Linked DNA regions of Homo sapiens: all the other regions are linked to region 1. The links are contacts of gene promoters, found by promoter capture Hi-C in blood cells and fetal thymus (Javierre and others, 2016). All regions are on one chromosome and are shown on one strand. The core of a region is centred on a gene start or on the middle of the fragment in contact, and the rest is flanking DNA. Distances in the headings are between cores, read along the strand shown.

What was found. The method cuts DNA at HindIII sites, captures the fragments that hold promoters and counts their contacts. A CHiCAGO score of 5 or more calls a contact.
Region 2: a contact is called between a fragment that was not itself captured here and the fragment with the promoter of NUP160 in region 1, in 3 of 17 cell types (naive B cells, total B cells and activated CD4 T cells). The highest score is 10.2, in naive B cells.
Region 3: a contact is called between the fragment with the promoter of KBTBD4 here and the fragment with the promoter of NUP160 in region 1, in 2 of 17 cell types (M1 macrophages and M2 macrophages). The highest score is 6.6, in M1 macrophages.
Region 4: a fragment that was not itself captured here is called in contact with the fragment with the promoter of NUP160 in region 1 in 14 of 17 cell types (total B cells, naive B cells, neutrophils and 11 more); the score reaches 24.9 in total B cells.
Region 5: a fragment that was not itself captured here is called in contact with the fragment with the promoter of NUP160 in region 1 in 3 of 17 cell types (naive B cells, total B cells and neutrophils); the score reaches 7.5 in naive B cells.

Annotation. Positions count from the first base shown.
Region 1 is chr11:47,846,929-47,849,628 of GRCh38, forward strand. It overlaps NUP160 (nucleoporin 160), which reads right to left and starts at 1,422. Exons shown (of 36, transcript NM_015231.3): 1 at 1,291-1,422; 2 at 920-1,031. The coding sequence starts at 1,390. RefSeq lists an enhancer at 1,360-1,919. The HindIII fragment of the contact is 7,211 bases long and covers 1-2,700 here.
Region 2 is chr11:48,121,377-48,124,076 of GRCh38, forward strand. It overlaps PTPRJ (protein tyrosine phosphatase receptor type J), which reads left to right. Exons shown (of 25, transcript NM_002843.4): 5 at 2,237-2,494. Among named protein-coding and RNA genes, the nearest start is that of MIR3161, 26 kb to the left of the region's middle. The HindIII fragment of the contact is 6,799 bases long and covers 1-2,700 here.
Region 3 is chr11:47,577,720-47,580,419 of GRCh38, forward strand. KBTBD4 (kelch repeat and BTB domain containing 4) reads right to left here and starts at 1,251. Exons shown (of 4, transcript NM_018095.6): 1 at 1,214-1,251; 2 at 1-309. The coding sequence starts at 1,232. NDUFS3 (NADH:ubiquinone oxidoreductase core subunit S3) reads left to right here and starts at 1,355. Exons shown (of 7, transcript NM_004551.3): 1 at 1,355-1,439; 2 at 1,550-1,615. The coding sequence starts at 1,373. RefSeq lists enhancers at 810-1,469, 1,162-1,401, 1,470-2,128. The HindIII fragment of the contact is 1,977 bases long and covers 1,036-2,700 here.
Region 4 is chr11:48,104,454-48,107,153 of GRCh38, forward strand. The region is part of intron 1 of PTPRJ (protein tyrosine phosphatase receptor type J); the gene reads left to right. Among named protein-coding and RNA genes, the nearest start is that of MIR3161, 9.0 kb to the left of the region's middle. The HindIII fragment of the contact is 3,181 bases long and covers 1-2,700 here.
Region 5 is chr11:48,142,520-48,145,219 of GRCh38, forward strand. It overlaps PTPRJ (protein tyrosine phosphatase receptor type J), which reads left to right. Exons shown (of 25, transcript NM_002843.4): 12 at 400-531; 13 at 2,156-2,366; 14 at 2,481-2,605. Among named protein-coding and RNA genes, the nearest start is that of MIR3161, 47 kb to the left of the region's middle. The HindIII fragment of the contact is 1,208 bases long and covers 740-1,947 here.

The sequences.
Region 1 (2,700 bases), core at 172-2,671:
CCCTAGTGTTAACTGTTCCCATCCAAAAATGCAATTTTGATGTTAGTAACTCTTTAAAAATCTTTCAATTATTACTCAATGTACTTAGGATAAAATCCAAAAATCCTTAAAAATGGCCTAAGGGTCCCTCATGGTCCGAGTCCTGCCTACCTCTCCAGCCTCAGTATCTCACATCACTTTCTGTTTTACCCACTGCACTTAAGCCACACAGATCTTTGGTCAGTTCCAAACCCGCCACATTCTTTCCACTTCATGACCTTTGCATATGGTGATCCTACTTGCTGGACTCCTCTCTGTCCACTCCCCATGCCTGGCTAACCTCGTGTCCTTTAGATCTCAGGGTAACTGTGAATTCCTTAAAGCCTTTCCCTGCCCCACTAATTATATTTGGTCCTCTTATTAGCCTCTCATAACCCGTATATTTTTCCTCTAGGGCAAGTTTTCCTCCAAAAAATTTCCCCATGAAAAGTGGGTCTACATCTATTCTGACATTGCTACAACGTCTTGCATGATGAAAATTGCAGTTTTGTTCATTTCGTCCTGGTACCTAGCACAATGCCTGACATATTGAAGCTCGAACGTATTTGTACAATGAAGGAAGCTGTAAAGCACTATAAAAACATAACGGGTTCATGTTTAAAATTGGTCTTATGGGCTTTATTCCCCTAAGCTACATTTCCTCTGCTTCTGGTGTTGCTTGGTGTATGTGTGTGTGGGGGTGGGGGGGGGGAGGGGGAGAGGTATCTCTTCTAGAACTCTGTGTCTCAGTTTTCCCGATTCTGATACGAACTGAAAAAACAATCTTTCTCTTTCCCTAAGTGTCAATTACCGCTTCTAGAATAGCACTTTGGGTACAGCGACGAAAATTTATACACCAAACCCTACCTTCCAGGGGAGTTTGGCGAACCACAACACTTACCAATGAATGAACCTGTTTCTGGTTACGGAGAACAACTTGCCACTCTCCACGTAGTAAAAGCCTCCCGCGCTTTCACTGTATTTTACGGCGCCAGCCACGGCATTTGCAGTCCCTGCAAAATGAACGTGGTCAGCCTGCACACGCGTCTTCTGAGAAATGACAGGGACTAAGGGAGCTGACAAAGCAGAGAGTGACAGACTGACAACCCATACAAAGAAAAGAGGAAAACGTCGGACATCAAGGAATCTCTGATCCCGGGGCTAGAGGCATGTGGACTCAGGAGGATGAAACAGGGCGTCAGGGACCCTGGGACCCATGAGAGGAGCCCGAGGGGACAGATGGGATCGCACCCTCCCTGGCCATTTCCGTACCAATGCTGCAGACTGTGAATTCCCGAAAGTGCCTCGGCCTTTCGCGCTCAGCTCCGCTTAGCTCCACGAAGCTCCGTTCCAGGGCTCCCGCCGCCGCCATCTTCCCGCCGTCGCCGCGACGCCCAACGGAACAAAGGCAGGGCCGCGCGGTCGCCGTCACTTCCGGGGGTGGGGCGGGCGGAGCTGCGGACAGGTGAAGCATTCCGGGAGCAGAAAGGCGGCTCCGGCCCTTCGTTGCGAGGCTTCCACCGGGAGAATGAGGGTGGGCAGCGAGGAATCCAGAAGAGAAGGGGGCAGGGGAGGCAGACTCTATCTGCGGGAACCTTCCAGTGGCCGGCTGGAACGCCTCCGGAGGGCGGTGCTCTTTTCTCAGCGGCCGCAGGGCAGGGGGCGGGGCCGGGTTTGTTTCTGTTTCTAAAACGCGGGGCTCAGTCGACCAGGAGGGGCGAGGTCCGGGGAGTCCCGGCCTTTCGGCGTCCTCTGCCGGATCCCGGGTTTATGGTCACCTCTCCCTCGGTTAGGGTGTCCGTCTGTAAATCTTTGGCGATCCTCCCTTCGCTCTTCAGTGGCGACACTTGGGATGGCGGGGTGAGGAAGGGGTAGTGAGGGAAAGGCCTTTGGTTTTGGTCTTTCCCCTCCCCAAGAGACTGTATTCGTGTATTCCTGTATAATGAAACGTAATGTGGTAAACCTTGGTGCTGCCACTTGCTGAGGTTACCTGAGTGCTACTCACTTGGATACGTGAAAGGAATTTGCCATTCCTTCCACCCGTGATCTTGCACTTGGCTGTCAATGCAGTAAGGGCCCATAGTGGGTGTTTAGAAGATATTGTGGGAGTAGATGTTCAAAATCGAGGAAAATGCTAATCTCCAGCGGGGAAGGTTTTGTTCCTTAGTGATAGCCAATAGAAGTTAAAGCACTTCTATTACCAGTGACCACAACCATTCCCTGTCATTCTCCGTTTCATTTATCTGGTTCCGACCATCATTTTCTATCTTTCCACTTCACTCCCTCTGGGACACCAACTTTGGCAGTGCAGTCCCCTCATTCTACCTGGAATCCATTGTTCTACAAAATCTTCACTGTCCCACACTTCTTTGGTGTTTCTTTCTTATCCTGAATACCATTAAATTACTTCATTGCCTAACTCTTCATCGGTAAAAACTACAACTTCGACTACATTCAAATCTGTAGCTGAACATGACTGGAGAAAACTATACACCCGGGTCGGGCGTGGCTCCCAGCATTTTGGGAGGCCAAGGCGTGAGGATCACTTGAGGTCAGGAGTCCGAGACCAGCCTGGCCAACATGGTGAAACCCGGTCTCTACCAAAAATAGAAAAATTAGCCGGGCGCGGTGGCTCACGCCTGTAATCCCAGCGCTCTGGGAGGCAGAGGTGGGTGGATCACG
Region 2 (2,700 bases), core at 69-2,568, 270 kb after region 1:
AGAAGAGGAGAAAAGGTGCTATGTTGTTTCAAGCCTGGGATTTCTGGTGGCCACATCATTCAGTATTAAGGCCCTATGTGTTTTGGGAAGTTCTAACTACTTCTGTTTGGTTTTTAAAATCTTTTGTTATTGTTGGTTAACACCTACCTTTCTGTTAAGACTCAGGAGTAGAGACTTCCTTAAAAACGCGTGTCTTCATGGTAATTACCAGCCTTTTAAGCTCCCAGGAAATTGATGCTGTGTTTATATTCCCAGGAGTTTCTGTTGGGCAGGAAAGTTTGGTGTATTTTATAGGGGAGTGTGTGTTTCAAATGAAATAAGAGTTTGATGATATTTAAATTTTAATTCAGATTTGACAGTTTAGATTTTGATTTATCTTAGATGTCAATACCGAAGCCATCTATTATAGCTGCAAACTTAGCTTTTTTTTTAAGCTGAAAAGAACCAAACATTTTAAAAAACAGGTGGAGAAACTTTTTTAAGGTGAGGAGAACCAAAAATTGAAGAAAGAGGTCCTCTGTTAGTTTTCTGATCTAGGGGGCTGGGGAGTGTGATCTCAGGGGCTGGAGTCGGCCATGGGCGCCTGAGCTCTTGGAGCCCACGGCTGGAGGTGAACGAGGTCCAGCGTGGAGCAGCAAATATGAAACCAGTGGCTTCCGACATTTTAAGTCAGGAAACTATTTCTTTAAACAAAACCTTGCCCAGGAGCCCAAAAAGTAAAAATAAAAAACTGGAGAGAAAAGAGCCAAAGAAATGGGAGTCACGGGCACCCTGACAAAACTCCTGGAGCTCCTCAGAGCACTATTTTAGGGGGGAAAACCTGCCATAAAGGTTTGCTCTGTTACATTGTGAAAGAGAGGGAAAGGAGAGCACAGAGAGATGACAGAAGAGAAGAGAATGAGAGAAAAGAGCATAGAACTTGGAAATGGTCATGAGGACAAGGTGACCCCGAGGGGGTGGCTGTGGGAAAGGGGATGCGGAGGTGCAGGAAGCACCGGTAGAGGGGCTGAGTGTCCTTATCTAGCTTAAAGCCCTGAGCACAGGGCTGCATGGGAGCAGGTCCATCAGCTGCTGCGTATTGAGCACGGCACATGTGCCTCTCTGTCCTTAATGTTATTTTGTCCTCACAGTAACCCTGGGGGCTGCAGCAGAAGACACTGTAATGTGGAGAAGTTAAGTTTCTTCCGGTGTCTCAGAGTTACTGAGTATCAAGTGGTGGGGCTGGAACCCGGAGTCTAACTCTAGACCACTGTGGTGCAGTGATGTTCATAACAGCTATCCACAGTCACCGAGCTGGGAATTTATTGGTTCTGCATTACTTAATAAAACAAAAAGACGCATGACTGACCTGATTTAGAACTCTTTGCATGAGAGACATGTGCTGTGAAGAATCATCTTACCGTTTCGGAGCTGGACGGTGCCTTAGAATCATCTAGGCCGATGTCTTTACCTTCAGGCCCCTGCAGCCCTCAGGAGGGGTTTTGCTCTATCTGCAGCACTACCTGTGCTTTTCTGTACATGAAGCTGCAGCCCTGGGTTCTCCTGTCCCCACTGCTACCAGGAGTGTGTGTTCTTGAGCAAGCCCCCCTGCCTCTCTGGGTCTTCGTGTTCTTATTGGAAAAGTGAGGGGAGTGCATGTCATTTTGGGTGAAGTGGTTTGACTTATGTCACCATCAACCAAATAACGCGATGGGAGGAAGGTCCAGGATATAGTGGAGATGGAACGTCTTCTGAAAAATCCCCTTGGTGCTGGGATATTGAATGTGCTGCTTACTTGAAATGTCTTGGTAATTTAAAATGATATTATTTGCATTATCTTGAATTGAGACCTTTAGATTAGTAAACAGTCACTTTATTTGAGGCTTTGTTCCTGATATCTAAAACACATACAATTAAATGCTACCATTTAAAAGGGACAGTTTAGAAGAGTGTCCAGTCACTATTGGGGTTAATCTTGGAGAACAGTGTGGATCCTAAACAATTTCAGTTTTAAGGTTTTTTTCTTCTCTTCCGTGTTATTATTTTCTCCCCCAGCCCTGCTGTGAAATGATGGAAATGCATTGGGCTCTGATAGAAAGGAAGTATTTTTAGTGAGTCACATTGGGACATCAGTGACCTCAGTCATTCTTTCTTTTTTTCTTTTAAAACCCGCTCCCAGCACTGAACCCCAGTCATTCTTAATGAAGGTGACTGCATATATCTTGTTCCATTAATGCATGTTGTATTTTTAAAATAGAGCCGATCCCAGTTTCTGATCTCCGTGTTGCCCTCACGGGTGTGAGGAAGGCTGCTCTCTCCTGGAGCAATGGCAATGGCACTGCCTCCTGCCGGGTTCTTCTTGAAAGCATTGGAAGCCATGAGGAGTTGACTCAAGACTCAAGACTTCAGGTCAATATCTCGGGCCTGAAGCCAGGGGTTCAATACAACATCAACCCGTATCTTCTACAATCAAATAAGACAAAGGGAGACCCCTTGGGCACAGAAGGTGGCTTGGGTGAGTTACAAAGGGTACCTTCCGTCTCCCTTACTGGTTCTTACTTTCAGTAACTAAATGTTCTAAAAAATAAATTGCTCTTCCATGTGTATGGAGATTTAGAATTTATAAAGGGCTTTTCCTCCACATTTTAGTTTGATCCCCCACCTGCATGAGGAAGGAAGGAAACGTGTTCTGATTTTACAGGGGAACACATTGGGGCTGAG
Region 3 (2,700 bases), core at 1-2,500, 270 kb before region 1:
ACTCGCTGACATCCTGCAGCACAATCACCCGGTTGTGGGCCTCCTTCAGGTTGGAAGTGAACATGGATCGGAAGAAGCAGCTCTGAGCTGAGAGGACCAGCCGATGGAGCTGAAACTCCCGGCCTTCCACCGAAATGGTGACATCAGCAAAGAGCTCCTCCTCTAGACACAGTTTCATGATGCCTTGAGCCACACGGCCTGAATGTGACCGATCTTTGAAAGTGTAGTTCACAAAGTAGTTCTCATCCATGGATGCTCCAGGCTCCTCTGGTGATTCCATGCTAGCCAACTTCTCTCTCTGCCAGCTGTCTGCAAAGCAACACCATCTTGAGTAACCTGAGGAATTCACAGCCATAGTCTGTGAATCCAACTGTCCAACTCAGGGAGGGAAAAGGAAGAAGTGAGAGCAAAGTGGGTCCAGATTGGCCTTAGTCCTGGCCCTGTCCATGATGTCCCTGACGCTATCCTTTAACCAAATCTGGGTTCGTTATCCCCAGTGGCGCCCCTCCGCTAATGATATAAATAAAAGTTCCAACTCTGGGTGTTTTCCTGAGAAAACACGGAATAATTCCTTTCCATAATGTTAACAAAAGACTTGGGATTTAGGTCAATATATGAAAGCAAAGGGCTGGGAGAGGCCTGTGATCGTAAAAGCCTTACTAACCAAATAACTGGGGCATAAAACTAGTGAAGCTCAGGGGCAGTAGAATCAGACAAAAAGGACCCCTGGCCCCGGCCTAGTGGCCAGGTCCTCTCCTTCCCAGCGCATGGAGTTAAGACGCTCCATATGAAGCCTAGCCTGGGATATCCGTGGGTCTTACATTTGCTCTCTTCTGAGCTGCTTCCCCCACACTTCCCCGCTCGCTCGAAAGACTCCCTATGGCTGCGTCCCAGAACTTGAGTCCATCCGCCCCCAGGCCGGGGCACTGGGAGGCCCATCACCCTGTGCAATGTCCCCGCTCCACCTTGAGTCGTCTTGGAAACGGTCGCCAGGGAAACCGTTCTTCCCGCTCAGGCCCGCCCGCCCTCGTCAAAAGCTTGGCTCAGAGAGCGGGGGAGGGGTGTGTAGCGTAGAACCCAAAACGCCCGCCCCCTCCCCTCCTCTCACCCGCCTGGTTCTTCAGCGTCCTCGCCTTCTCTCTAGGCTCTGCCACAAGGAGCTAGGACCACGCTCACCTCACGATTTCCCTACCTGCCTGTCTCGCTTTCTCACCTGCGTTCCCTCCTTTCATCCCGGAGCCCGGAACCTCCGCTTCCGGCTCCACGTCCGCCCGGAAGAAGATCTGCTGCACACTTCCGTTTCCGGTCCGTGCCCTTGGGGCTCCGTGTCCTGCTGTCTTTCCGTCCGCTGCCTAGTCTGCATCTGAGTAACATGGCGGCGGCGGCGGTAGCCAGGCTGTGGTGGCGCGGGATCTTGGGGGCCTCGGCGCTGACCAGGGGTGAGCACGGGCAGCCAGCTGAGACCGGGGTCAGGCGCAGCGGCGTGCCCAGTGCAGAGAGCTCCTCAGGGCTCATCCCGCGCGTCTGTGCCTTTTATCTCCCTGTGCAGGGACTGGGCGACCCTCCGTTCTGTTGCTGCCGGTGAGGCGGGAGAGCGCCGGGGCCGACACGCGCCGTGAGTATGTGCGGGCAGCGCTCTTCTCTGAACTATCGGCGGGGCCCCTTAGATGCCTGTCCTTGCCCTAGGATGCCCTTCCCTACGTCCTCCTGGCAAATCTTGGAGATCTGACTTGCAGTGGTCTTCACCCTGCATGCAGAATCGAGCCCTCCCTGTGCCCTTAGGCCTGTTATGGCCCTGATTGTTCCTTGTCCATTTCAATCATCCCCTTTTTGTCTGATTAAACTGTCAGCTCTTTGAAAGCAAGCAATATAACCTTTAGGCCTCAGAGCCCTGTAATAATAGTACCTAGCGTTAATTGAGTGCTTAATGTGTGCCTGGAACCTCGCTAAGCGTTTTAGTGAATGATCTTATTTCGTCCTCACAACAGCCTTATGGGGTAGATAGCATCTTACTCTTCTTACTATAGATCAGGAAACAGTCCAAAGAATTAAACTGCCCAGGGTCAAAGACCTAGTGAATGACAAAGTAGGCCTGCCTGCTGCCAGAGGCAGAAACACCTAACCATTATTCTGTAGCTTGTGATGTGTGATTGCTCAGTGGTTTAGGGTTGCATGAATGAGTATGTACATATTATGTTACAGTCAAGATACACGGACTGGGAGTTAGGAGACCTGGCATTTCTCCTTTCCTGGGTTTTCTCATTGACACACACACACACACACACACACACACACACACACACACACACACCTGGGCCTCAGTTTTCTCATTGACACACACACACACACACACTTTTAAGGAGAGAGAGAGTCTGTGAGGGATCTTCAAGCCCTGAAGTTCTTAGCTTGAGAACCTGGTATAAACTTGCGTGCTAAGGAGCTACAGAGAGGCAAAAGTTCAGTTCCCATCCTCAAACAGCTCTTAGTCTGACAGGAGAACTGAGACTACTGCTTTAGCAGAAATGCAGGCAATGTGAGGGAAGAACTGTGGAGTAATTTTGAGAAGAGGTGAACACCCCAGCTGCTATAGTAAGAGTCTTTCTGAGGACCGTGTAGTTAAGGTGGCACTTTCCCCAAGTTTTCATCACTGTATTCCCTAGAAGGGAAACCTTTCACATGCACCTTTCTCAAGGTGCTTCA
Region 4 (2,700 bases), core at 109-2,608, 260 kb after region 1:
CATTTTGGTTAATTACGTCAGTGGGTAAAAATAACTATTGTCATATGGTGTGTGGGCTTGGCTTTAGAAGGATAAAGAGTCTATTGTTACCCATTGTGCTATTCAGTCACTTATTACCCATCCTTAAAAGCCCAACGTGGATAACAGAAAACCTGGAGAGCTTTGTCACTTGCTGAAATCCAAGCTGCCCTGTGAATTTATCCCCAAACACTGCTCCTTTTGAGAAACTTGTACAAGCTGCCTTAATTTAGTCAATTCAAATGGGTTGATGGGGGCTGTTCCCAAGGCCCAGGACAGGCAGGGGTTTGTGACCTGCAGCCCTGGAACTGCCTTTGGGTTTCATGGTCTCAGTTGAGACCTGCCCAGGGTTGAACCAGCTTAGTGCTCCCTGGGGGTGGTTAAGTTCAAGGACTTCAGGGTCCGATTGACCTTGGGCTGAATCTTGACCTGGGGCTGTAAGATGCTCGGTCAGGACCTTAACTTTTCCAAGGCTCGGTGTCTACATCTGGAAAATGGGGATAAACACAGTTCCTCCCTGCTGGGATTATTGTAAGGCTTGAATGAGATGATAAATACAACATCTGACTTGCGACTGGACGGTAGCAAAGGGTTTAGTTAATATTATAATAAGTAGAATGGAACAGCATTAGATTCTCACACAGGGTCACTATGTTGTTTTCTCCCATTCTACCCCTGCATATTACCCTGAAGCACCCCCAAGCCTCTCCCTCCCCATCCCTCAAGCCCCTCCCTCCCCATCCCCCAAGCTCACCAGGTCCTGGCGCACCCAGATCTTTCACTGCTTTTCTTGCCTGTGAGCTCTTGGGGAGTCAGGACCACCTTAAGCACCCTCTGCATCTTTGGCACCTAACCTGGGGCCTGGGGCCCTGCAGGGCCACAATTAGCAGCATGGACAACAGCATGGACGGAGAGGGTCTCAGAGCCTGGAGAGCTCCTAGGGGCTGGAGCAGTCACAGGAAGTCACCAAGTGAATTGAAGGGTGGTGGCTTTGGAGGTTCAGTGAGGCAAGAAGAAGGCTGTTAGGCTGGGAATTAAGGAACCTTGTGTTGTTCGAGTCTCAGGACAACTCAGATATGGGGTCTGTATTGCAAATGCCCCTGCGTCATTTTACAACTGATGAAAACAATGGCTCCACGAGACCCTCAAGTGCCAGAGCTCATGAGTGACAGTGGAAGTTGAACTAACCTTTTAACCACCCTAGTCCACACCTGTCAGGCTGACGGGCTTTCAGTGGTGATGTGTTGGGAGCTCTGTGCCGCAGATCTCTGTGTGCTCCTGAGACTCTGCCCGCCTGTCTCTACCCTGCTGTGCCCACTAGGAGGAGGCTGACCTTTATGTTCTACACCAGTGGGTGCCCTTGGTCTCCAGCTTCCAGTGGGCCAGTCTGGCGAGAGACCCTAGCTGGAGATGAGGGGAGGTAGCCTTGGCCTCTCTCCTTGCCCTTCCTCGCTGCTGCTACCCCAGGATTCTTGCCCATCCCTTACTGGTTTTCCTTAACCCCACCCTCACCCTTGAAAACAGACTCTTTAAAACTCTCCTCACTCACCCTCATTGAGTGTGTCATCTGCTCCAGCTAGGATATTGGCTAATACCGCATGTTTCAGAAAGAAAAATTCGCAGTTCTATTTATTTTTTTACTGTGGATTGAAGGGAGAGGCAACCAGGTATATGGATGAAGGAGTAGGGCCTGGCTGTCACCACTGGTGTTCACAAAAGGCTCCCGTTTAAGTCCTCTTATATTCCAAATGAGGGGTTATAGGTCGAGTCAGGGCGTTGCTCTAACAGAAGCAAAACCAAAAATACACGGCCGTAGATACAACCCTGTTCTGGTACTTCCTAATTTTGTGTGTACATGTGTGCACCTGGAGCTTCAAGAAATGAAAATGGAAATGGCCTGAGTGTTTCTCAGCCCTAGGATGAGGCTGTTTCTGTGATTTAGGGCTGGAGGTTATGAAGACTTGGTTTACAATATGCACAGTACAGAAGCGGGGAAGTCAAGGTGTGCTGGGCAAGGAAACATCTTTATGTGACCCACAAAGAGTGAAGCAGAGGGAAGAACCAGAAGTTATTCTGGTTTGCAGACTGGGAGACAGGTTTAATGACACAGTCATGTCAGAGAGAGGGGAAGAGGAGAATACGTAGGGGGTCTGTTTTGATGTGTATGTACATGTAGGATTTTCATGTAGAGGAGTTGGGGAAAATTTTAGAAGTTTTAGGTGTAAATGCAGCTGGTAAGATCCTTATGACTTAGTTTCTTTTTTTTCTTCTTTTCTTTTCTTTCTTTCTTTCTTTTTTTTTTTTTTTTTTTTTTTAAGACAGAGTCTCACTCTGTTGCCCAGGCTGGAGTGCAGTGGCGCGATCTCAGCTCACTGCAACCTCCGTCTCCCCAGTTCAAGCAATTCTCCTGCCTCAGCCTCCCAGAGTGCTGGGATTACAGGTGCATGCAACCACACCTGGCTAATTTTTGTATTTTTAGTAGAGTTGGGGTTTCACCATGTTGGCCAGGCTGGTCTGGAACTCCTGACCTCAGGTGATCCACCTGCCTTGGCCTCACAAAGTGCTGGGATTACAAGTGTGAGCCACTGCTCCCGGCCTTAGTTTTTGAGTGGGAAGAATCTAGTGTTCAGAGTGGACCACTGATGTCATAGCTGCAGGTTTGGCTGAATTGGGATGGTGCAG
Region 5 (2,700 bases), core at 94-2,593, 300 kb after region 1:
TTATCGATGTTTTGTGGTTTTCACTCTACAAGTCTTTCATCTCCTTGATTGTATTCTAATTATATTTCAATCAATCTGTTAAAAAATAAAATAAAAGCATGTACTGTTCAAAACAACAATAGCAAAACCAAACAAGGCTGCTGGGTGCCTGCCCTGGGGATTTGGCTGGATGCCCTGAAGGGGTCATTGTGAGCTAGGTGGGTTTCCCAGGATCTGCTGTCTCTGCTCCTCACCAGTTTCCTTCCCTGCCTTTTGCTTCTGGATTTGCTGTTTTGCACGAGCCCAGCATGTAGCTTCCAGAGTAAGATCTTGAGGAGGTTGCTGAAGCATGTTCTCTACCTAATGTGTTGCTTTGGTTTTCAATATTGGGTGATCATGTTTTGTTTTGTTTTGTTTTAGATCCCCCTCCTCCAGATGGATCCCCTAATATTACATCTGTCAGTCACAATTCAGTAAAGGTCAAGTTCAGTGGATTTGAAGCCAGCCACGGACCCATCAAAGCCTATGCTGTCATTCTCACCACCGGGGAAGGTAAGGAGAGGCCTCCGTGGGTTAAACAGCCCATGAGTGATGCAGTGACCAGAGCTTTCTCTGTGCCCACTGAGGCATGTGAGTAATGCAGACACACGCCTGTCTTCTCACTGCAGCCTATGCTGTGTACTCAGACAGAGAAGGAGGGTGAGGTATTTGCCTGATGGTTGACAAACTTTCTGGAAAGGGCCAGATTGCCAATATTTTAAGCTTTGCAGGTGGTATAGAGTCTGTTGCAAGCATTCGACTCTGCCATTGTAGTGTGCAAGCAGTCACAGAAGATACAGAAGGAATGAGTGGGACCATTCCCACTAGATGTTATTTACCATGGCAGGTGGATTTGGTTTGTGGCCCATAACTTGCTGATCTGTGATCTAGGTTTTTCTTCTCTTTTACCTCACTGGGCCTTTTAGGTGGTAGAATATTAGTTTTAACCAACTCTGTCTCTCTCTCTCACTCTACACACGTACACACATGCCATCCTCAGAGGATGACTTTCCTTTGAAAGAAAATAGAAAAAGATTTGCATTTGCTAGTGGGAATTTGCAGAGTATCTCCTTAGCTGAGAGAAGAGGTGGATTAAAAGCTGCTTTTCCTTAAAGGGCTCTGTTACATTCTTTTGTGGTAGGAAAGGAATCATTCGAGAGTCTCTTCGGTAGCTGTGTTTGAGTGCTTGCATAAGGCCTAGATTTAAAAGCCCAAGTTTTGTTGTGGGGGTTCCCTCCTCCCCCTCCCCTCCTCCCCCTCCCCTCTCCTCCTCCTCCCCTTCTCCTCCCCCTCCCCTCTCCTCCTCCTCCCCTTCTCCCCTTCTCCCCTTCTCCTTCCCTTCCCCTTCCCTCTTTCTTTCTTTTAGAGACAAGATCTCACCATGTTGCCCAGGCTGGTCTTGAACTCCTGGACTCAAGTAATCCTCCCACCTTGGCCTTCCAAAGTGCTGGGACTAGACTACAGGCATGAGCCTCTGTGCCTGGTCTGGGAGATTCTTTATGCATGAATAATGCAGTGTTTCCTCTGCCCACTCTCTCCTACTGTGGTGCTGTCCTCATGTCCTTGAGGAGGATAGAGACCAAACACACTGTCGGGGTTAGGGATCTGGGAGGATAGAAATTTGCTGGTGCCATAACCTGTGGCAAAATTTCAAAAAGTGAGGTTGAAATCTCTATCTTTTAATTTTGGGTCTGTTTCCAGCTCTTAGTCATTTTGCTGTGATGCTTGTCAGCAAGTCCCATTGAGGAAGGCCATGTTGCATAGCAGCCAGACTGACCAGTGCTGGCCTGTGATTAGATGAAACCTTGGGCTCTGAGCCCGATGCCCTGGATTGGGAACCCAACTCTACCTCATAGGCAGTGTGACCTTGTGCCTGGTCCTGTTAGCCTTTTGTACCTTCGTTTTCTTGTCTGTAAAATGGAGACAATAAGCTTATGTGATGGGATTCATGGGGATGAAGTGAGTTACTGTAGGTGAAACCCTTAGAATTCAATGTAAGTCAAACCTGGCACAGAGAGATACTTGAGAGATGGTTGCTGATCACTATCACCCAACATCACCACCATGTAGATATGCAGGAGAAGAAATCTCTCTGCCATCACTTTCTTATGATTCTCCTTCTGTGTACCTTTCTTAGCTGGTCACCCTTCTGCAGATGTCCTGAAATACACGTATGAGGATTTCAAAAAGGGAGCCTCAGATACTTATGTGACATACCTCATAAGAACAGAAGAAAAGGGACGTTCTCAGAGCTTGTCTGAAGTTTTGAAATATGAAATTGACGTTGGGAATGAGTCAACCACACTTGGTTATTACAATGGGAAGCTGGAACCTCTGGGCTCCTACCGGTAATGTCTTCTGGTTCTTACTCTTTGGGGGCTGAGCCTCATGAGCATAAAGCTCTACATGCCTGCGGTCAGACACGTCTCAGGGACCTCTTTTTGCTCTTTGTTATCCCACAGGGCTTGTGTGGCTGGCTTCACCAACATTACCTTCCACCCTCAAAACAAGGGGCTCATTGATGGGGCTGAGAGCTATGTGTCCTTCAGTCGCTACTCAGATGCTGTTTCCTTGCCCCAGGATCCAGGTAGGGAGAAGACAACAGTCCTGGCACTGGTTCAGTGGCATTTTGCTCCACGTGTCCATAGAAGGCCAGCTGTGTACATGCCTCCCTCAGACCTT